Regions from separate parts of the Homo sapiens genome. Here regions 1, 3, 4, 5 and 6 are each linked to region 2. Evidence: promoter capture Hi-C in 16 types of primary human blood cells and fetal thymus (Javierre and others, 2016). All regions are on one chromosome and are shown on one strand. Each heading gives the region's core, a stretch centred on a gene start or on the middle of the fragment in contact. The rest is flanking DNA. Distances are from core to core; before and after follow the strand shown.

Region 1 (3,683 bases), core at 622-3,121, 2.3 Mb after region 2:
GAAGGCCACCCTTAGTTAACTTATAATCCAGATACTCATTTCCAAATTTTAAATTAAAAGAAAATACAAATTTTAAGCTTCTTACCATATCTGCCAGAGAAATATAGAGGAACATGCCTCCAGCAAGTGCAAATATAATATTTGGAGCGAAATTGTTGCCCACCAAAATGCCAAAAGCTAGCCCAACATAGCAGGAACATGCAGAAAGGAAGTTGAATAGCAAGGCTTGTCGAGTGCTCATCCCTGCATTGAGTAGGATCACAAAGTCTCCTAGAAGAAGAAGAAGAAAATATCAAGTGAATAGTTTTTTTTTTATTTCTGGATGATATCAAAGATAATCATCAATGTCCAACAAGGTCTTCATTTTAGTGCATCAGAAGGATTTTAAGAGCATGTCACCTGAAAAGTCTCATTCCACTGAAATCAAGAAGTAAGCAGACTTTTACAATATGAACAGAGCTCCTTACCTAACTCGTGGGGAAACTCCTCACATAGGATTGCTATGGAAGTACTGAGTCCCTGAAGGAGAGACAAGGTGCAGGAAGCCCCAATCGCCAGGCCATCGATGAAATTGTGGAGGGCATCGCAGAGCGTTATCATCCAGGCAATCGTCCCTATTTCTGACAGTTTGGGCCCCTTCAAACAGGTACATGAACTTGGCTCTTTTTTTCCATCCTAGCAGAAAATCAATTAAAATGATAACCAACATTTCTTGAAAGTCTCAGAAATACAGACAAGTTGGAGATGGGTTGTGCTTGAGAAAAACAAATTGTTCCAACAGAAAGTCTTTTAGAGTAACTAGGAAACCCTAATAATATATAACAGAGCAAAGAAAACTTATGGTTGAGAGAAAGGAAATTCATCAACTGACACACCTCGAATAAGCCACTAACAGATATTTTCCTTTACTTTCCCTTTAAAACAATTCTTTTGACTTGTATAAACTTCTTCCTACTGCCTTTCTAAAATGTAGCAGATATTAACCTAAGAAATTTATTTATACACAAGATTTAAAATGAAGGAAGTTATTCAAAGACTAAACTTAAAGTCTTTTTTATGTTACAATTTAAATGTGAAATCCACAACTAGAGCATGATGAATGACATCAGCAACATTTGTTCTAACCCCTCCTATGCCACCATGTGACAGGGAGCAAGTTATCACAGAGTTCCTTCAACTGTGAAATGAAGACATTGTACTAAATGATTCATTTATTTATCAACAACTTATTGAGTTTCCATTCTGTTCCAGGTACCCTGTGGAGGGTTTAGGCTGTAACAATATGGTCTCTACCAGCTCCAAAGCTTAATTATTTTCTTAACAAATTGCATGAAGTGTAAATGGAACAGGCTAGCCTTTACACTAACACTTCCTTTCATGTAGAAACAATTAAAAAATAGAAAATCCTGTGATGGACTCTTTGTAGGAATTTAGATTTCCAGAAAATTTACAAAATTGTACAAAATCAAATGACAAATGCCAACTAAAACACTTTCCAGAAGTTGTAGAAAAAGATAAAATGCAAATTCATTTTTAAGTACAAAAGCACTTTGCAATTAACTGGAGAACATTTTATTCCTAATTCTCCTCCTCTCACCTCTACCTAAGCAGCTAATCATTACATTTATTGAACTTCTGAAATTTGTAAAACACTCTGTTGAATGCTATAGGAAATACACAGAAATGGAAAACACAGCTTCTGTCTTCAAGAAGTGTATTTACATTGGAGAAACAAGTCATAATATATATGGATACATTAAAAAAAAAACATGCAATATATATCCAACAGAGAGGGGCTTACTTCAGAGCAACCATCTAAGAGGTTTTACAGTTACTCCAATATCACTTCACCACTCCAAACACTTTGGGGACCAACACTTTCAGAATCAGCCTTAGATCCTGCAATACATCTCTTTACTATTTCGTTAGTGGCAAATCTGCACCTTTGGATTTTTGTTTGTTTGTAGGCACAGATAAAAGCATTTGGAGCAAATATTTTTTTAATTAATATGAAATGAATGGGAAACTGTTAGTAATAGGATTCATCATCATTGTCATCACCAATGTGGTCGTAGTAGAAATAGTAACAGCAAAGGCACATAGCATTTATAATGTGCTAGGCACTGTTCTAAGCACTTCAAATACCGAATTCATTTGGAACAATTCTATGAGGAAAGTACAACTGTTACCATCATTTTATAGTTGAGGAAATTAAAGCACAAAAAGGTTGGTAAACTTACCCAGAGATACAAAAAAAGAGTGAATGGGCATTTTTGGCAACAGTGCTTTACTACTACACACATATCGGGGATGGGAATTCTTCTCTGTAATAGGATCTGAAGGTAATTCGCAAGGAGACTTCCCCACCTCTCAGAAAACTCTTCTGAACGCTTGATGCAACATTGAGTAAGTATCAAATCTTTTTTATTTTAAGAAACAAAGCTTATCCGCATAAAAAATTCTATCTTTTCTTAAAATGTGGGCTTTTTATTTTATAGCTGTATCTTAAACGCACAACACAATAAACAATCATAATTTAGCACAGGTGGATCGGGTAGTTTGCATAAAAAATGCCCCAGAGCGGGAAGCAATTACAGCTGAAGGAGAAACAAAGGTGGTCATAGGGAAAGCCACAGAGGAAGTGACCTGGGCTTTGTAAAACTTAATGCCGTGATATACTTAATGAGATTATTTTGAATTAAAGCAGTTGTTTTCATCTTCCAATCTAATTTGTCTAATTACATGTTTAAAATTTCCTTATTGTGATGACTTCAGAAGAAGACTACAAAACCAAGTCTTGACTACCTGATATCACTACAGAGTCTGTATACAAACACCCTTAATTTTACAGAAGAAATTAAATTAATATATCAGGAATGATTCTCATACCTCTAAGTACAGATATTATTGACTCTATTTATTATGCCTCATGCTTTGGTCCCAAATGATACTGTTGAGCAGGTAAGAGTTATACATTTTTAATAGTTTTGGAACAAACCAAAGTCAGCAAACCTTCACAGAAACTTCTTTTTTAATTCACCTAGAATTAAATCACTGAGCAGAGAGAACACTAAATTCAAGTTCCTGTAGTTAAATTAGTGAATATGCCTATCTCTCTCTTTCCTTTTTAAATTTTTGTTTTCTATTGTTATTGTTGTTCACTTGCTTGCTTTCTTGTCTGAGTTTTACTCTAAATATGAGGCTATTTCTATCCTCAGCCATGATGAGGCAATTCAGCCTAGTGAAAAGACACTAAGTCTGGAATCTAAAACTGAGTTCAAGCTTGGCTGTGAGAAGAATTACCGTGTAATCTTCAGCAAGACTTGTAACACCTTTCACTTAGTTATTAATGGGGATGGAAGTCAAAGCAATGTGTAGTGTTATCAGAATGGGGGAGAAAGAATATCATGCACCAAAGTTAAAAAAATAGAGGGAGACTATGTTGAATCCCAACATAAATTGGAGGGCAAAAAACAAAATTTTTTTCAAAAAAAGTACTTAGAAATTAAAATGGAGAAAACAAATGGGCTTATTGCAGAACAGTTTAAGGAAGGAGGAGAAAGTTGTAGAGGATGAGGAGGCCTGGGGGAATAGGGAGCACAAGGAAAGGGAGAAGTAGCATGAGGAGGAGGAGGAGGAAGACAAGTATAAGGAGGATGAGAAGGAGGATGAGGAAGAGGATG
Region 2 (3,850 bases), core at 912-3,411:
AGCCAAGAGGTGAAAGGAACCCAAATGTCCATAGACAGATGAATGGATTAACAAAATGTGGTGTATATATACAATGGAATATTATTCAGTTTTTTTACTGTAGCTTTTTTTTGGTCTTTTTTTTTTTGTTTTTTTGAGATGGAGTCTCGCTGTGTCGCCCAGGCTGGAGTGCAGTGTTGCCATCTCGACTCACTGTAACCTCCATCTCCCGAGTTCAAGCGATTCTCCTGCCTCAGCATCCCCTAGTAGCTGGGATTACAGGCATGCACCACCACGCCTGGCTAATTTTTTTGTATTTTTAGTAGAGATGGCGTTTCATCATGTTGGCCAGGCTGGTCTCGAACTCCTCACCTCAAATGATCCGCCCGCCTCGGCCTCCCAAAGTGCTGGGATAACAGGCGTGAGCCACCGCGCCCAGCCTAATCAGTATTTTTTTAAAGAGGAATTCTTCACGTTACAACATAAATGAAACTTGGGAACATTATGCTAAGTGAAGTAAGACAGTCACAAAAAGATACTGCATGAATCTACCTATCTGAGGTAACTAAAGTAGTTAAATTCACAGAAACACAAAGTAGAATGGTAGTTGCCAGGGTCTTAGGAGACGGGGCGGTAGGGAGCTGTCTGATTAGTACACAGTTGTGTTGTAAGATGAAAAAGTTCTGAAGAGTCCTTGCACAACAATGTCAATATACTTCACTAATGGACTGCACACTTAAAAATAGTTAAGACCGTAAATTTGGCAGGTTTTTAAACCACAACTTAAAAAATTATTAACTCTTTTCTTTCATTTTATTTTCCTGTCCTCATGGGTATAGTGTTAGAAGGCAATGTAATGGAAAGGATAGAGAGAAAAGCAAAGAGCACAGGGCTTCAACGACGTAGAGAAAAAAATTTAAGAGACAACAAAACAAGTGGCCCCATATTTTCATTAATAATTTTCTACAATTAATTGAATCTATCGATAACTTTCTTCTTAACCTGGAAATACTAATGGCAAGGCAACAGTGTAGCGGTTAAAGGCCTTTTCGAGTCTGAAAGTTCAGCTACTATTCTGACTTTGCTACTAATTGTTGTGTGACCTTGGGTAAGATACTTTCATTCATTCGCTAATTCATTCATTAATTATCAGAAAGTCTGTTTCCACGTGGGTAAACCTGGTCAAATGAATCCTGCACCTCTACACAGAATTGTTCTGAGGAATAAATGAAATAATCCATGCAAAATGTTGGGCACAACTATTGGCACTTTGTGCTCAATAAATGTTGGCTATTATTACTCCGAAGCCTATCGAGTAGGAAAATAAATAAGCTGACTTCAACTAAAGGAAACCCAGTACCATATTCCTCAGAGATTTGGTTCGTCGATAATCATGGTGTTATCAAATCAGATACTCTTCAGCAATCATTACTGACTCTTGACCATTCTTGCCGAAAGTGTGCTCTTCTCTTTTAAAGGAACTCTCTCCCAGGGAAAAGCAATGTCATCTCAGGTATTCGATGTTTGCTTTGGGAACAGTTTTCTACAGATCTCAGAAACATGGAATCTGAGATTAGCCACTAGAGTACACCATTCCTCTCACTTCGATAGGGGCCTAGGCCTTATGTAGGACTGAGAATGGGGAGGGAGGGGGCCACATAAACAACACAGATACAAATAAAGCCTCACTGTGGTAAGACGGGACCAGACAAGTCTCCTCCAGGGAGAATGAAACCCGGACATTTAGGACAGCGGAACGCGGAGCCGGCGGGCAGGCGGGTGCAGAGGAACCTCGCGCAGCATTCCCCGAGCCCCAGCCCGGAGCCGGGGCTGGGGCCAGGGCGGGGGTGTGTCGGGATGCTCCCCACCGGGCCTGGGGCTGGGGCTGGCTCAGACAGGCCGGGGGCCCCGCAGGCCTCCAGGAGGGGCCGAGGTGGGGGCAGGGGCGGGCTACGCGGTGGTCTGGGGATTGGGCAGGAAGAGAAGGGACGCTGAGGTCTCACCGCGGGCCGAGGGCAGTGGGTAGAGCTTCTCGGCCTTCTGCAGGAAGCGCTGGGCCTTCTCGCGGTTGCCGGCGTTCAGGGCCTCCCGGGCGATCTCGACACATTTCTCAGCCTCATCCCTGTTCCCCTCCATAGCTTGCTCCTTCTTCCGTTTCCTCCGGCAGCGCAGCTAAGAAGGGCGGAAGCCGCCGCCGCGGAGGAGGCGAGGCGGGACCGGCTGGGGGCGTGCGGCGGCAGCGGGGAGGAGCGCAGGGGACCGCGGCAGCGGCTGCGACGGCCCGGGCGGACGGGCGGGCCTCGCAGCTCCGCCTCCTCACGGCGGCCTCCCCGCCCCCCGCGGGCCCCTAGGGCGCGATCCGCATCCGTCCCGGCCCAGGACCAACCTCCTGGGCCGGGGCGTCCGAGCTGACTCGGTGGTCCGCGCACGGCGCCAGCAGGCTCGAAGCGGACCTGCCCGGGAGGCGGACGATAGCAGCCGGGCTGCCCATCGCGGGGAGGGGTTCCGCCCGGGACCCGATTGCCGGCATTGGTAGCGCCGTGCCCTGTGACCTCCAGGCGAGGCCCTCGCAGCTCAGGCCAGGAGGACAGGGTCCGGGAAGGGGACACTCGTTTTCAGTAAAATTGCCAGGACTTGGAGGTTCCGCCTCTGGGCCCCTCAAGCGAGGGAGGATGCGGTCAGGTGAGGACCAAGGTGTCAGTCCAGTCTCAGCACTTCCGGGACACGTTAGAGCGTCGTTTGAACCTAATCTTAGGGCTTGTATGGCAGCCTTATTTCAGCTACATTTTTTCTGACCCGGATGTCTGGCTATCCAAAGTACAAAGCAGTTTAATTTGTAGCTTGCAACGAGTGGTGCAGATCGACCTTAATCCTGTGTAGCCAAAACAAGGCAGGAATCAGCCCCTCAGGGGCTGCCCTAACGAAAGCAAACTTTTGATTTCACCTTTTCCGTCCCATTTGGATAACATTACCACTTGGAAGTACCGTGTCTTGTTAGTCTTCGCGGTGGGGGTGGGGGGAATGTTTGCTATGTGCAAATTTTTTAAAAAAAAACATGACAAACTGTCAAAATGACCTGCTCAACCCAACCACAAGGTAACAATTTTTACATAATGCTGTGAGCCAAGCTGTTAATTCTGCTAACTACCATAACTCGGTACTTTCAAATAAGAAACCCTGCTTCTCTTCGATAAAATGGAGATAGTATATCCCCAATGATGTTACTGAGTACTTAACAACTTCAGACTTCAAAGCAGGGCCTGGCACGTAGCACTATTATCTTTAAAGTTTAAATTCGGAGTTCATTCTGTGGATATACAGGACATTCCTACCTATTCTCTCCCTCCCCAAGTCCACCATGCTAACAGCATACTAGTGCAGTGCTGTCACACAGCAAGCGAAGCCAATGTACAAACTGAAATGGTCACACTTAGCCTAAGAAACTGACAATCCCACTCCAGCTCCTGCCAACTTTTTAAATTAAAACTTTAGTAGCTCATATAACATTAAAAAAATATACTTGGGCTATCTCACTTTGTTGATCTACAGATTTGACAGTTCAGTCACAAAGAAATGTGCTTAGTTATTGCTGCTAGATGAGATACTCAAAACAAGTTCCTATTACAACCAAGCAAATTTAATACACAACTAGTTTGGGATATGACCTTTATTGAACTTATCCACCAGAGTGGAAATAATGTCTGTACAAAACCAAATGTTTGTTACTATAACTTCTGCATCACAATTAAAATCCAAACAGTTTTTTAAAAACAGTCAACTCAATCAAAACCCACTACTTCAGAATCAATAGCTTCTTTGAAGCCACAGTAACACTTAAATATGGTTAAGACTCGAATGCAGAAATTTGGTT
Region 3 (3,458 bases), core at 37-2,536, 2.9 Mb after region 2:
AATAATCTGTGTTCTCTCTCATAGCTAGCCAGATATACTAAAAGCACAGGACTAGGCATGAAGATGGAGGGAGGAACCCAGATTAGTTATTGCTTCCCATTTGCTTGATATTGGCCTGGTTAGTTATCTTCTAACCCCGTTTCTTCACCGCTAAAGTAAGTAATAATGACTGTCCTTTCTCACAGGGTGATTGTGTGGTTAAAGTGTCATAATATATGTGAAAGGACACTGGAGACTCTACAGTGCTGTATAAATGTCAGTTATTAAAGTAACCAGTCAGACATTAACTGGCCATAGTGTGAAACAAATGTATAGTAGTAATAGTGGCCACGCCTGTAATCCCAGCACTTTGGGAGGCTGAGACGGGTGGATCATATGAGATCAGGAGTTCGAGACCAGCCTGGCCAAAACAGTGAAACCCCATCTCTACTAAAAATACAAAAAATTAGCTGGGCGTAGTGGCGGGCGCCTGTAATCCCAGCTGCTTGGGAGGCTGAGGCCGGAGAATCGCTTGAGCCTGGAAGGCGGAGGTTGCGGTGGGCCAAGATCACTGCGACAGAGTGAGACCCTGTCTCAAAAAAAAACAAGAACAAAAAACAAAACTAATATATATGGAGTTCTAGATTATCCATGCTTATAAAGGCAAGTGATTGTGTAATCACAAACTCATTATTGTTAGGCAGTGAAGTAAATTCATTGGTTGATTGGGCTTTCTGTTTACAAGTTTGTATTTGCATAAGTGGACTTACATTTCTGCTTATATTTTGCCATGGTTAAAATCAAAAGAAACATAGCCTAGAAGCATTTTGATGCCTTAGGATAAAGCAGGCTAAGATTAAGTTAAATTTTAAAACATTATTCATGTACCTGTTGTTACAGAGAGCCCACTTTACAGTTGCAAATAAAGTTAAAACATTTTCATTCATTTAACTTACTTGAATTACAATGGTAGAGATGTCCTCATTTGAAACAAGAAAGGAAAATAATCATGTTTTTTATATTGCAGTCGGAAATAATGCTAACAAGAAAAAAATTATGGCTGTAAATACTGAAAGAAAAATTTACATTTAGAAATTAATAAAGGTACAAAAATGTTGAAAATTTAATTAACTAAAAATAATCCCTTCCTTAATAAATACTATTTTGAAGTCCTAAAAACTTTGTAAATATAGTAGATCAGATTATCTTGCATGAATTGACATAAAACATGAGAAAATAGAAAGGATCAAGAAAATTAAAGCTGGGCTGGTGGCTTACGCCTGTAATCCCAGCACTTTGTGAGGCCAAGGTGGAACGATCACTTGAGCCCAGGAGTTTGAGACCAGCCTGGATAACATAGGGTGACCCAGTCTCTACAAAAATAATAAAACAATTAGCTGAGCATGGTGGTACACGCCTATGGTCCCAGCTACTTGGGAGGCTGAGGTGGGAGGATTGCCTCAGCCTGGGAGGTTGAGGCTGCAGTGAGCTGTGATTGTGCCACTATACTCAAGCCTGTGATGGAGCAAGACCCTGTCTCAGAGAAAATTACTAGTAAATGGGCAATTAATCTACCAATCTGAATAATGGTGGTGTGCCAGGGTCTTATTACATGAATTTTTCAGTGAGGCCACGTTATTATAATAACTTGAGAGTAAGGGGTTAATTAGAATGTATTGATGAATAAACATAATTAACAGATTTTATATATATGTACTTAATATTGTATCTATGTTTTCATGTATCTTTAATTTTGTTACAGAATATTATAACTTGCCAAAGACACTGGCTCTAGTACAGTGTATACCATTTTATTAGTTTAATTAAATTGTAAATGCTACGGTCCAGATTTTATATTCAGAATGCTCATTTACATATTCTGCCTGGACCAAGTAATTTGGAGCCCAGGTCAACCAAATGTTATTTTACATTGTTTGCACAAAAATCAAATTGATTTCTATACTTAACAATTCAGAATCTCATTAAGTCAAATTAATATGGTTTAAGAAAGTGTACTTTATTTCATGCTAAGATGTCATTTTGGCCTTAATAAGGCTTTTGGCATGTAATGAAGCATGCACAAATCTTTGAGATAAAAATAGAGCATTTTTCCACACAAAAACATATATATACACAAATGTTCAGAGTAGGGCTATTCTACTTTTTAGTAGAAACAACTCAAATGTCCATCAGCTGATGAATGGATAAAGAAGATGTGATATATGTGTATAATGGAATATTATTATTATTATAAGGAACAAAGTACTAATACATGTTACAAAATGTATCTTGAAGCCTTAAAACATTCTGTCAAGTGAAAGAGCCAGACACAAAAGGCCACATACTGTTTGATTCTGTTTATGTGAAATGACCACAATAGTGCATTCTGTCTTCCAAAAAGCTGGTTTACTTACAAACACAGGTTAAAAAAATATATATTTGTAATACTGCTTTTGGTGTAGGGTGAGGCACGATAAAGAGACTTTCATTCGGTTTGTCAATCAGTGATACTTAGGTCTGAATAGGCAAGTGGGAGTCTTTCAGGTTTAGGACAAAGAATGTTAATGTAGTAGAGATCTGTTGATAGAGTCACTCCTAGTTTTCTATTTATTTAAAAAACATCGAATTACTATTAGGTGCTAGACACTGAAGATACATAAAAGACACAGATGTCATCTATAAGAAAGTCTCTTGAGGAGACCAGTAAGCATCAGACAACATCATAGAGTGGGTTCAGTGACATAAATGTGTGCACAGAGCACTATTAATGTACTGAACTCAGCTGGCGGTGGTCAGGGAAAGTTTCTCTGAGGAAGAGAGTTGTATTAAAACAAATGAAAAAAAGGGAGCAAGGCAAAGTTGGAAAAAAATTGTGAGGGAGGCTCCTAGGAAGAGGAAACAGCATGCAAAGTCTCAGAGATGACTTGATAAGTTTTTAAAACTAGAAAAACTTTGGCTGCAGTATTGCGAGGTTGAGGTGGCGGGGGGAGCGGCAAGGAGAGAATGAGAAGACAGAAAAGATGAGGAGACAAGATAGATTTGAAAGACATGACTGGAGATCTTGAGGGCCTTTTATTTTGAAGGGGATGGGATAGAATGGAGAAATTGAATTTTTAACAAAAATGGCCTGATCAGATTTGATGGCAAAAAGGTAACTGTGATAGCAATGTTGAAGCATGTGCCCAAAGTATGTATTGGGATGGAGACTAGAGGCAAGAAAAACAGGATGTTAATGAAATAATCCTGAAGAAATGTGAGAAAGATCTGAAATAGTTGCACTAATAAGAGAGAGTACAGGAAGTAAACTTAGTTTATTTACTGGGTCAAGCTTGCCTAAAAAATATTTGGGGGCGGGGGGAATTCTCCCTCCAGTTACCTTTATTAGAATGTTACAATAAAATCAAGCCAGGCACAGTGGCTTATGCCTGTAATTCCAGCACTTTGGGAGGCCAAAGCAGGAGGATTGCTTGAGTCCAAGA
Region 4 (3,927 bases), core at 552-3,051, 2.6 Mb after region 2:
GTTTAGTGTGGTGGTTAATATCATGCACACTGGAGCCAAATCTGTTAGGTTCAAATCCTGACTCTCCTTCTATTTACTAATTATGAAACCTTAGGAAAATTATTCAACTTTTCATCTGTAAATATGGGGATTATAATGGTGATCCACTTTATATGACTGACAACCAAATAAGTGAATACGTGTATAGCAGGTATTAACCATATGCTTAGCCGACCTATTTCAACCTCCTAACCAACCAGAAGAACTGTAGTTCCCTGCTCTCTTGCATCTAAGTGGGGCCATGGAATGTGGGCAGAAGTGTTGTGTCACCTTTACTCAGAGGCAATTAAAAAGAAGACATACTTTTCCTATGTTCTCATTGCCAATGAACACACTACACAGATCTCAACCTCAGAATTCTCTCCACACTGGTATTTCCAAAATAGCTTCATGAGAAGGGAAATTTGTGTAGTTTCAATGATTTAGTGATGCTATGGTTTGGGTATTTGTCTCCTCTAAACCTCATGTTGAAATGTGACCCCAATTTTGGAGGTGGGGCCTAATGGGAGATGTTTCGGTCATGGAGGTGGATCCCTCACAAATAGATTGATGCTATTCCCTGCAAGGAGGAGAGGATGAGTGAGTTCTCACTGCATTAGTTCCTATGAGAGCTGGTTGCTAAAAAGTTTGGCATCTCTCCCCTCTCTCTCGCCATACGATCTCTCTGCACACACCACCCGCCTTTGCCTTCCATTGAGTGGAAGCAGCCTGAGGCCCTCACCAGACGCATATGCTGGTGCCATGCTTCTTGTACAGTCTGAAGACTGTGAGCCTAATAAACCTCTTTTCATTATAAGCTACCTAGTCTTGTGTATTCTGCCATAGCAACACAAATGAACTAAGACAAGTGACAAACACAAAATAACTTGTCTTTTAGACAATATTGATGTCTGAAATTCCACATTGAGGCATTTTTTTCCTCTTCGTAGCCTGATAATGGCAAATACCTTCTGACACCTTAGGATGGATGAATTTGTAAGAGATATTCCTGGAAGCAGGTTTGTACAGTGTAGAGAAAATGTTGGGTAACAAAGCAGGAATGGAGGAGGGTTAATCAGCAAGCCAAAAAGCTTTTATAGTTTTGCCTGCTGTGCTGCATGGAATTACATCCCCCCAAAACATATGTTCAAGTCCTAACCACAGGTACCTGTGAACATGAGTTTATTTGGAACTAGGATCTTTGCAAATGTTATCAAGTTAAGATGAGGTAATACTGGATTGGGGTGGGCTCTAAATCCAATGACTGGTGTCTTCATAAAAGAAAGGTGAGGGAGAGTTGAATATAGCGACACAAAGGAAACACGGGGAAGGAGACCATGTGACAATGTAGGCACAGAATGGAGTGTTGCAGCCAAGCCAAGAATGGCAAGGATTGCTGGAGCTACCAGAAGCTAGGAGGAGGCAAAGGATTCTTCCCTAGAGCCTTCAGAGGGATCATGGCCTTAATGGCACCTTGAGTTCAGAATTTTAGGCTCCAGGACTGTGACAGAATAAATTCCCGTTGTAAGCTGTTCAGTCGGTGGTAAATTTTTACAGCAGCCCCAGGAAAATATGCCTGCTCAACACCCTACCCTGAATTTTAAGTTCATTTTATGGAATCATTTTGAGTTTGGAGTTTGATTTAATCCTTTTCAGTAATTAACGCTCTTCATTTTTTACTCCCAAATATGTCACACTGGCTCTACTCTTATAACAATTGTATTTATCTATCTTTTGGTAATGGGGCTGCCACCCCTTGCAGAATGAAAAGTAGAGTGTGTATGCTCACACCTCCCTCCCTCCCTCCCTCTCTCCCTCCCTCTCTCTTTCTTTCTTTCTCAGAGTATCGCTCTGTCTCGCCCAGGCTGGAGTGCAGTGGCGCAATCTTGGCTCACTGCAACCTCTGCCTCCAGGGTTCAAGCGATTCTCCTGCCTCAGCCTCTGGAGTAGCTGGGATTACAGGCGCCCGCCACCACGCCCGGCTAATTTTTTTGTATTGTTAGTAGAGATGGGGTTTCACCATATTGGTCAGGCTGGTCTCAAACTCCTGACCTCAGGGGATCCACCCGCCTTGGCCTCCCAAAGTGCTGGGATTACAGGTGTGAGCCACCGCACCCGGCTCACAGAATTTCTTAAAAAGTCATTGTGTTCAGTCTTTATGGATCCTCTAAATTCCAGCTGCTCAGCCTCCCGGAGCTAAATGAGATCACTTAAAGGTCGACTGTTGGGGCCTCCAAGGTCGCCTCGGAGACTCACCTCATAGGCAATCAAATGGATCGCTGGGTTTTTGTGTGTGTGGGTTTTTTTTGTTTATTTTTTTTTTCCAGAAAAACACTCCACCAAGAAGGTTTTTATAACCTACTGGAGGAGGAGGATGGAGAGTGGGCACGAAAGGACTAGGATGAACATGCCATAAGCAATCTAAATGCCACTGCAATATTGCCTGGTGAGGACCTGATTACTGATGTTTTAAAGCTAAGCTTTCAGTTGTCACTCCACCCAGTAGTGAAACAATGAGCTCTAAAATATATATTTCGGCTCAAGCTTTCTTATGTGGGGAGGTAATCCACCCGAAGGTATCCCCAGCCTGTACCTAATACAGTGCCCAGCACTAAAGCAGCTCAGATGCCAGTGAATGGTGGCCACTGGGAGGCCTGTCAGTGGGTGCCAGTAGCGGTCTCTTCAGAGAAAAAGAAAACTCCCCTCTGCCAGATCAGTATTTTATGAGCTGTGAACCAAAACCATTGCTACCACCATCACTATAATTCTATCCACAGTAATTATCATAAAGGCCTAACAATGCCTTGTAGATGAACATTCTGAGTAACTGCTCTATAACCAGGAGATTTAAGACCGCACCAAAAACCAGTAGAGGGTTATACTTTACTGGGCACAAGTCGTTTATGATAACGAAATTGTAGTTTAATCTGTGAAGAGATGTGAATGTAACTGAGACACGCTTAAATGGAATATACAGATGAGCTTTATTTTTATATCTGGCATGCTTGGATCCATGCCGACCCTCCAGCTGCTCGGGCCTGCCCTTAGGGGCTATGGACCGCATGACTCTATCAGCGGCACTGCCACCGCCGCCGCCTCCGTGCTGCCTGCGTTCCCCGACCATTGATTGGGCCCGGCAGGCGCTTCCTGGGGGCTTCCCTACCGGCTCCAGCCCTTGGGATTCGGGAGCGCCCTGCTAGGAAGCCAGAGCCCCGCAGGGGCCGCGGCGTCCAGGCCGCCTAACGCGCGCCCCTCGCCCGGCGCCCCGAAGCGGCCCCGAGGGGCGGGAGCCGAGGCGAGCGGCAAGGCCGGGCCGGGGGCGCACAGCGCCCCTAGAAGTGCGGGCTTCCCCCACCCCCGGCAGCGACCCTACCTCCCGCCCCCGCTGCGTGCGCGCGTGTGTCCGTCTGTCTGTATGCTCTCTCGACGTCAGTGGGAATTTCCAGCCAGGAAGTGAGAGAGTGAGCGAGACAGAAAGAGAGAGAAGTGCACCAGCGAGCCGGGGCAGGAAGAGGAGGTTTCGCCACCGGAGCGGCCCGGCGACGCGCTGACAGCTTCCCCTGCCCTTCCCGTCGGTCGGGCCGCCAGCCGCCGCAGCCCTCGGCCTGCACGCAGCCACCGGCCCCGCTCCCGGAGCCCAGCGCCGCCGAGGCCGCAGCCGCCCGGCCAGTAAGGCGGCGCCGCCGCCCGGCCACCGCGCGCCCTGCGCTTCCCTCCGCCCGCGCTGCGGCCATGGCGCGGCGCTGACTGGCCTGGCCCGGCCCCGCCGCGCTCCCGCTCGCCCCGACCCGCACTCGGGCCCGCCCGGGCTCCGGCCTGCCGCCGCCTCTTCCTTCTCCAGCCGGCAGGCCCGCGCCGCTTAGGAGGGAGAGCCCACCCGCGCCAGGAGGCCGAACGCGGACTCGCCAC
Region 5 (3,923 bases), core at 1,334-3,833, 2.9 Mb after region 2:
AGCTGGAACTACAGGAGTGAACCACCACAGTTGGCTAATTTTTTTTGTCTTTTTAGTAGAGACGGAGTTTTTGTTGTCTTTTTAGTTGAGAGGCTGGTCTCAAACTGCTGAGTTCCAGTGATCCACCCACCTTGGCCTCCCAAAGTGTTGGGATTACAGTCGTGAGCCACCATGCCCGGCCCCAAACATTGAAGTTTTAATAACCTAATTCCAGAAGTTCTTTGTAAGCTTTCATTTCAATTTTCATAAAATCAAATGCTGTCTATGACTGCTTCTGAATAAAGGCAATCTGCTGATGGGATTTAGGCAAAGCCAAATTTCGTTTCGTTTGTTCGAAAAAAGAACTTTATAAAGAAGGCAAAATATTTCAATGTTACAATTTAACACTAAAGTTCTGCCATGCCAAAAGAGGAAGAACTACGAGGTTCAGAGATAATGAAACTAGGCAATATAAAAAATTGAGACCCTATGATATTTAAATTCTATTATGAATCAGCAGCAAACTACACCAAAAAGAAACAAAATCCCCAAAGAATAAGGAACACTGTGATCAGCAAATCGACTCAAATCGTACAAGTCCAGAATTTATGTTAGATTTTTTCAGAAACCTTCTACTTCTTTTGCTCTCATCAGTGCAAAGTTGCTCCCTCACAGTGCCTCAGCTCTTCTGTGGCAATAAAACGTTGGTATTCTTTTTTTTTTTTTTTTAAAGTGGTGCTGTCGCCCAGGCTGGAGTGCAGTGGTGTGATCTCGGCTCACTGCAACCTCCACCTCCCAGGTTCAAGTAAATTCTCGGGCCTCAGCCTCCAAAGAAGCTGGAATTACAGGCATGTGCCACTACACCCAGCTAAAAATGCTGGTATTCTTATAGGTTGATTTTCTACTCTTAACTGCTGACCCATAAAAATTTGAGTTGCAAAATATATCTCTGGTCAGTTATTCATTCCAGGGCATATATTCAAATGCCTACTGATATTTCTACTTGGATATCTCTACTTGGATATCTCATGTCATGCGTCCAAAACTGAAACTTGTCTCAATCCCTTTTTTCCTGTTTATTAATAGCAAGCCATAACTGAAAGCCATAAACCAGGATCTCATCATCAACTTCTTCCTCTCTTATCTCAGAATCAAGATAGTTATCAAGTAAGATCTTTAAAATTTCTTGAATTAGCTTCTCCTTTATGCCCACTGTCACTACCATCTTAGTTCATGATGTTATCTTCAGCCTAGATTATGGCAATAGCTTACTAATGATTATCCCTCCATCCTAATGATAAAGTGGTCTTTTAAAAATGTTACTCCCCTGCTTGAAATCTATGATAGTTTTTAAGATAATTCCAACTCCTAAGTACATACGGTGCTTTATGATCTGGGTGCCCATCTAGTTTCATCTTCTGTCTCTTCTATAGAACATGTTCTCTACTGCACATAAAATATTATATGGATAACATATCTTTTTCTCTTCCCTACTTGGAATATTCTTCCTTATAATATAGCCCTTCCTTTGTCTTATCTGCTCCCTACCCTTCTTTTATACCTCTTTAAGCACATAGTTACCATTATCCACCCATATATCTAACATTTACTTATATTTCTCTTTTATTAGACTACAAAGCTCCTCAACGAGTAAGGTTAAAGGTGGAAAAAGTCTTCAGGTATCAGTAACCTACGTGGGAAATGACATAATAATACACTTGAAAAAAAAGTTGAAAAAATAATCCTTATGGACCAAATAAAATAGTACCTATGGACCAATTATTTTAATTCAGATAGTTTTTCTGGTTGACTATGCTCAGGCTGCCAAAGGTTACATTTTTCAGATACTTTCACATTTTTCACAGGTACTCTCTTCTACATCTCTGTCATAGATTAGGTGGGAGTTAGTGTTGTTCTCTAAATCCACTTTTTCTGGATTTCCAATAAAAAAAAATTTAAGCAAGTAAATATCAGAGGCAATAGGTAAGGAAGTCAATTTCTTCTAATTACATCAATTCTTGTTGGAAACTAACCTTAATACAGTACCCCACGCCCCCCTCCCCAAAAAAACCCACGCACACAAAAAACTAGCAATGCTGTCATTTCTTTCGAAGGTTTAGTTTTTAGTCAATAGTTGTGCTTCCGAAGTAGCTTACCTTCAGAAAGAATAAGCCAGTACATATGATTATTAAAGCCAAGCAATTTTGCTGCATAACTAATGATCTAAAGGATTTCCCAACAACTCACTAAAATCAAAGTTACTCTATTGAAACTCAAAATTAGATGGTATATTCCCTACAGTCAGGAATCTTCAGTTCTGTGGCACTGGCACCACTTTAAGGGACCTAAGTAGTAGTCCAAAGCAAAAGTGACGTTGTTAACTGTCCAGTTCTCCCACTAAATCTGTAATTTATGGGTTGCTTTAGGTCACAACTGCTTGCTACATAGAGCAACCATACTCACAAAATAAGCTACTATTTATCTTATACAGTGATGCTTTGTCACAAAGAAGTATTGAGAAGCCAAAAGAACAAAATGAGTTGTTTCATTGGTGCACTCCACAGTAAGCATATAGTTAACTATTTAAAGCTGGCATCTAAATTATGTGCTTACTTATGTACAAGACAATACCCGTACTTTGGGTGGATTTTTATAATCTTTGACTCCTTCTTGAAATTTACCCAACCAACAGTGAGAACTAACCTTTTTAACTGAAAACATATTTCAGTGAGTACTGCTACCAAAGCAAAACCCAGCAGTTGTGGTTAATCAGGTTAATATTTAAATGGTTCTGAAAATCACATGCTTCTGTTTGTAAAAGCAGAAAACTGCTAGTCATTATATTAAAAGGTTGCTGAAAAAGTTCAGCAAGGAATAGCCATCACCTGAAATATATATTTAAAAAATGAAAAAAGGTAAATGTTTTCTCAAAATAACAGCAAATTAAGTAAACTGCTAAAAAATCTGTCAGAATAAGCAACACCATTCTCTAAAAAAATTACTACCATACACTCATCATTCATGTTTCCTTTTGATTGTCTATAGGTATGTTCCTTGCCTTTTGGGAAAAACTAGTGTGTTGTTCAAAATAACAAAGTCTAAACTGTCAAGCAGAAAAACCAACTAGTTTTAAAGAGTTAGTTTATTCTGCACACCATCCAATTAGAAGTTTTAATTACCAACGCTTCTGTGCTTTCTTAGTATTGACAATTTTTATAATGAAACTATCAACTACCCTCTGAATCAAAGATGAGCTTTATTTTAAGGCATTTTATAGCATTCTTTGAAAACTGGTAATCCAAAATGGGAAAATTCTAGAGGTTGCAAAAGCAACTGCTTTACAAAACACTAGGCAGATAATATGGAATTGACCTAGTAGGCACTGTGGTAAACACATATCCCATCTAAAAAAGGGAGGCAGCTGTCATTCCATCCCAAGCCATTACTGCTTATGGAATGTGGGCCTACTCAGAAGGCTTTTATTTGAAGACTGCCAACTTTCAAAAATATCGTGTGGGCCAAACTGGGTAACTCAACATTTAACTGCGTGTATTAAAATTAAACAATATTGCTACCAAATTAGATAAAAGTAAGTACTTTTAATAACTACAAAGCCAGGATTGTGCATTTCGTTATTACAGGACTATTTTTACTGTTTTAAATGTTACTTTGTTTTAAAATGATCCAGGACGTTTCAAAGTATTAAACTTAATATTTGCACCCCTGCCATGTCTTACTTTGATTTAGTTTTTCTACCTTTAGGGCACTAACATTTTAATTACTCTAAATTAATCCTCCCTGCTTCAATTTCCCATTAATTTATCCTACTCAGCACTTCATTCACCAATCACTTATTTTCCATCTTGTCACACTTCAGCACTTGTTTTAGGTATCTGTCTCCTCTAATACAGTGTAAGTTCCCTATAAGATCGACAGGGATGTTT
Region 6 (3,862 bases), core at 477-2,976, 2.9 Mb after region 2:
AAATTCCTTCCTTTTCTCACTGTAAAATAAAAATACCAAGGGGAAAAATGGAAAGTATTTATTATAACTGGCTGTTACACTGTCATACACAATGAAATACTGGACCATTAGCAGTTCGTTATTATATGTTGTTAAGTGTAGAACTGTAAATAATGAGGCATATTATTAAGATATCACACACATTATCCAATCAGCAAGTGCACAACTTCGGACATTTTGACTTCAGCCAAAATATGAAACAAAGTCATAGCAAGAAAGTTATTTCAAGGGAGTGAAATTTTCTCCTCTTACCCTTCAAATCTTTTAGAGATATTAATAAAAACAACTATCCAGCCTGGGCGATATAATGGGACTCCATCTACATACACACAAAAATTTTTAAAATTCGTTGGGTGTGGCAGCACACGCCTGTAAACCCAGCTACTTGGAAGGCTGAGGCAGAAGGATCCCTTAAGCCGGAGTTAGAGTCTGCGGTGAGCTATGATCTGACCACTGCACTACAGCCTGGGCGATAGAGCGAAACCTTGTAACAACAACAACAACAACAAAATTAAAACCTTCAAGATCAAGCTTGCCCAACAGGATGGCTTTGAATGCCACTCAATGCAAATCTGTAAACTTTCTTAAAACTTTATGAAAAAAAATTTTTTTTTAGCTCATTAGCTACCATTAGTGTTAGTGTATTTATGTGTGGCCCAAGACAATTCTTCTTCCAGTGTGGCCTAGGGAAGCCATAAGGACCCCCTGCGCTAGACTTCAGCAGAAGCCTTGTAACATAAAGAAAACCATACATAAGGCTTTAGATTCTTTTTTTTTTTTTTTTTTGTGACGGAGTCTTGCTCTGTCTCCCAGGCTAGAGTGCAGTGGCACATTCTCGGCTCACTGCAACCTCCGCCTCCCTGGTTCAAGCGATTCTCCTGCCTCAGTCTCCCGAGTAGCTGGGACAGGCACCTGCCACCGCGCCCGGCTAATTTTTCTATTTTTAGTAGAGACGGGGTTTCACCATCTTGACCTGGCTGGCCTCGAACTCCTGACCTCGTGATCCACCCGCCTCGGCCTCCCTAAGTGCTGGGATTACAGACGTGAGCCACCGCGCCCGGCCAGCTTTGGATTCTTTTACCACTTTCCCGAAGGAAAAGGAACTGAAAATATCTAAGGAAGGACTACTACGAATCTTCTCTGAGTGGCAAAAACCAGAGGTTTTTGGAGCTAGGGCTGCAGTTAAGTTGCCAAGGGGCAGAGATGTAAACAGTTCCTGGTTTAGTTAAAATATTTTAATTTTTATTTTTTTAAGCCTGGCCTTTGGGTGAAGGAGTAAAATTAGGCACTGGGGTCTGGGTAGGGGGAGGATACTCATGGGCGAGTATGCAACCCTAGGGCCACAGCACCCAAACTGTAGGGGAAGAGGCGGGGCGAGAGGGGACGAAGTAGAGACAGCAAGAGACTCACTTTTGAAAGGCACTTTCGGTTAGAAAGCATTCTCACATGCTTATCTCATCGCACACAGTATCCTTTCTGCTGGTCTCCAGCATCTACAGACGTTAAAGGCCCAAGAGGAGGGCCACCTTCACACGAGATTCCGAGGAGGGCCTCGCTACCCGCCAGTTCCCGCGCCTCGGCAGTCCGCCGCGAGCGTACGTCACTCGCCCGCCGCCAATCGGCGCCCGGCAGGTCACCTCTCCTCCCAGGGCCCGCCGCCCCGCCCGCCGCCCAGGCCGAGGCCGCCAGTGCCCGCCGGCCGCTTCCGCTCCCGGCGCAGGCGCGGCAGCTTGGCCAGAGCGGAGGGGGCTCGGGAGAGGAGTGGACGCCGCTGGCCAGGATGGTGCTGGAGAGCGTGGCCCGTATCGTGAAGGTGCAGCTCCCTGCATATCTGAAGCGGCTCCCAGTCCCTGAAAGCATTACCGGGTTCGCTAGGCTCACAGGTAATCCTCCCCCATCAGCCAGTCCCCATCCTTGCACGTTCGCCAAGCGGGGGAAGGAGGCGTAAAAATCCTAGGGCCAAGGGGCGGGACGGAGCTCGGCGCCTGGCACGTGATCCCCGCGCGCAGAGGAAGGTGGGCGCGCGCCGACGCAGCTGCCTGGGGAACGCCTGTGAGGCAGTCTCCGGGTGCTTGATGCCCCAGGGTCTTTTGTCCTCGGAGTTGTCTCCGGTGTCATTCCGTGGCAAGATACCAGGTTTTTGCAGAGAAGGTGCTGAGTTGGGAACAGGCCAGTCTCTTTCATCTCCTGTCCTGCTCATCGCTCTCTGTAGCGTACTTGTTTATTTTAAAGCGGGCTAAGTCGTCGTTATCTAAGGCCTCATGTAACAGGCAGCCCCAGCTACCGGCTGGGTTGTACCCTCAGCATGTGGGTGGGAGTGTGTGGGAGAGAAATATAGACTTACACGTAACACGTATATGACCGTTTTATTTAGTAACGAAATTAGGAGATAACCTCCATTCCCTCAGGTTAGAATTGACCTATCATAGGTGGCATTTGAGGTCATCTCCGTTTCTACGGTCCCGGGGCCCGCTGCGGTAACTTAAGTTGGAAGAAAGATACCTTACCCAAGAAAGTATTCGAAGGCCGGTATGAGGAGTGAAATCTTAGAAAATGAAATTTAGTGAATATATGTAACGTTCTATACTTAAGGACCCTCACTTAACCCACACAACTCATGAGGATTTCACATCTAAAGGATGAAAATCTCCAGAATGCAGTCAACACTTGGGAGATTGTGTTGAGTTATGAGCATTTCATTGTAAGGGGGATATTTCTAAACGGAACTCAGACCGAGTAGGATGGTGAAGGAATCAGCAAGTATTGAACTCCTATGTCCTAGGTTATCAGGGAGTGCAAACATGAATTAAGATAATTCTGAGGTAAATAGGGTTGCTTCGCCGGGAACGTTCTAAAGATCTGTAGTACCTGACCTAAAATACAGCAATCGCACAGCTGTCTGGTAGAAGAAAAATAAGATTTGTGTAGACTAAAATATAGAACTGATAACAAATTAACCAAATTAGTGAAGGTTATTGGGAGGTGAATTTCAGTCTAAGGAAGATTTTTTTTTAAATTAAAGAATGCTTTCCCCAAACAAATGTGGTGCTTCAGTGATAGCCCCTCTCAAAGATGAAAAAAACAAACAAAAAGACTCTGGTGGTGGGTGGTCGATAGATTTAGAAGGGATAAACTAGATGACAAATTCTCTTCCAAATCTAGAGATTCATTGAATTATGGTCAGACAGACGCTCTGTTGAGTGGATTGTGAGATTTTAATATTTTTTAAATATTAAGAGTTTTAGTAGAAAACATGCAATTGAATAGAAAGCATGGTAACAATAATAAACATTAAAAAGGAACATTAAACATCAGAAGCAATGCAAAAGTAAAATAAAATGAAAAACGTTTCACATCAAGTGTTTATAAACATCAGATCTTTTGATCCTACCAGTTTACTCTGACAGAATTGCAGCAATTCCATAAAATTTTGGCTTTCCCCACTTCTTTTACTTAAGTACTTTACATATTTTAATATAATCCTCATTTTTTCCCTAACAACTAAATACTTATTTTAGTTTTAACATCACAATGGGCCTAACCATTCATTCCCTTACAACTGGAAATTAGAAATGTTTCTATTTTTTAAAATTCATTATGTAATAGTTCATTGGCAAGTAAGCAAATACCAGTTGTCATATTTCTCCCTTTTGGATGTCTTCACTTAAATAGCAATACCAGGCCAAAACGGTATGATCATATTGTGACTTTTGTACCCTTTTGTCATTTTGACATTTGTACCTTCTTACTAATTTGCATAAGTTAACTGTTGAGGAATTTTTAACAGTCAAGAAAGGAAAATGTCCAATGAATTACCTATGTT

The links. The method cuts DNA at HindIII sites, captures the fragments that hold promoters and counts their contacts. A CHiCAGO score of 5 or more calls a contact.
Region 1: a fragment that was not itself captured here is called in contact with the fragment with the promoter of DNAJB14 in region 2 in 1 of 17 cell types (total B cells); the score reaches 5.2 in total B cells.
Region 3: a fragment that was not itself captured here is called in contact with the fragment with the promoter of DNAJB14 in region 2 in 3 of 17 cell types (fetal thymus, total B cells and non-activated CD4 T cells); the score reaches 7.9 in fetal thymus.
Region 4: a fragment that was not itself captured here is called in contact with the fragment with the promoter of DNAJB14 in region 2 in 1 of 17 cell types (total B cells); the score reaches 6.3 in total B cells.
Region 5: a fragment that was not itself captured here is called in contact with the fragment with the promoter of DNAJB14 in region 2 in 1 of 17 cell types (neutrophils); the score reaches 8.5 in neutrophils.
Region 6: a contact is called between the fragment with the promoter of CISD2 here and the fragment with the promoter of DNAJB14 in region 2, in 1 of 17 cell types (neutrophils). The highest score is 6.2, in neutrophils.

What each region holds. Positions count from the first base shown.
Region 1 is chr4:102,267,405-102,271,087 of GRCh38, forward strand. SLC39A8 (solute carrier family 39 member 8) reads right to left here. Exons shown (of 9, transcript NM_001135146.2): 7 at 468-675; 8 at 86-270. Among named protein-coding and RNA genes, the nearest start is that of SLC39A8, 76 kb to the right of the region's middle. RefSeq lists an enhancer at 26-1,225. The HindIII fragment of the contact is 1,138 bases long and covers 1,303-2,440 here.
Region 2 is chr4:99,944,457-99,948,306 of GRCh38, forward strand. DNAJB14 (DnaJ heat shock protein family (Hsp40) member B14) reads right to left here and starts at 2,162. Exons shown (of 8, transcript NM_001031723.4): 1 at 1,983-2,162. The coding sequence starts at 2,115. It overlaps H2AZ1 (H2A.Z variant histone 1), which reads right to left. Exons shown (of 5, transcript NM_002106.4): 5 at 3,632-3,850. RefSeq lists an enhancer at 1,546-1,595 and a silencer at 1,766-2,425. The HindIII fragment of the contact is 11,087 bases long and covers 1-3,850 here.
Region 3 is chr4:102,829,345-102,832,802 of GRCh38, forward strand. The region is part of intron 1 of UBE2D3-AS1 (UBE2D3 antisense RNA 1); the gene reads left to right. It also overlaps a transcript of UBE2D3 not described here. Among named protein-coding and RNA genes, the nearest start is that of UBE2D3-AS1, 3.0 kb to the left of the region's middle. RefSeq lists an enhancer at 28-107. The HindIII fragment of the contact is 4,037 bases long and covers 1-3,305 here.
Region 4 is chr4:102,497,858-102,501,784 of GRCh38, forward strand. The region is part of intron 1 of NFKB1-AS1 (NFKB1 antisense RNA 1); the gene reads right to left. NFKB1 (nuclear factor kappa B subunit 1) reads left to right here and starts at 3,502. Exons shown (of 24, transcript NM_003998.4): 1 at 3,502-3,927. RefSeq lists silencers at 3,182-3,441, 3,452-3,927. The HindIII fragment of the contact is 1,389 bases long and covers 1,108-2,496 here.
Region 5 is chr4:102,804,804-102,808,726 of GRCh38, forward strand. The region is part of intron 4 of UBE2D3 (ubiquitin conjugating enzyme E2 D3); the gene reads right to left. Among named protein-coding and RNA genes, the nearest start is that of UBE2D3, 21 kb to the right of the region's middle. The HindIII fragment of the contact is 4,715 bases long and covers 227-3,923 here.
Region 6 is chr4:102,867,266-102,871,127 of GRCh38, forward strand. It overlaps CISD2 (CDGSH iron sulfur domain 2), which reads left to right and starts at 1,727. Exons shown (of 3, transcript NM_001008388.5): 1 at 1,727-1,922. The coding sequence starts at 1,820. It also overlaps a transcript of UBE2D3 not described here. RefSeq lists an enhancer at 1,178-1,317 and silencers at 1,548-1,837, 1,868-1,987. The HindIII fragment of the contact is 11,662 bases long and covers 569-3,862 here.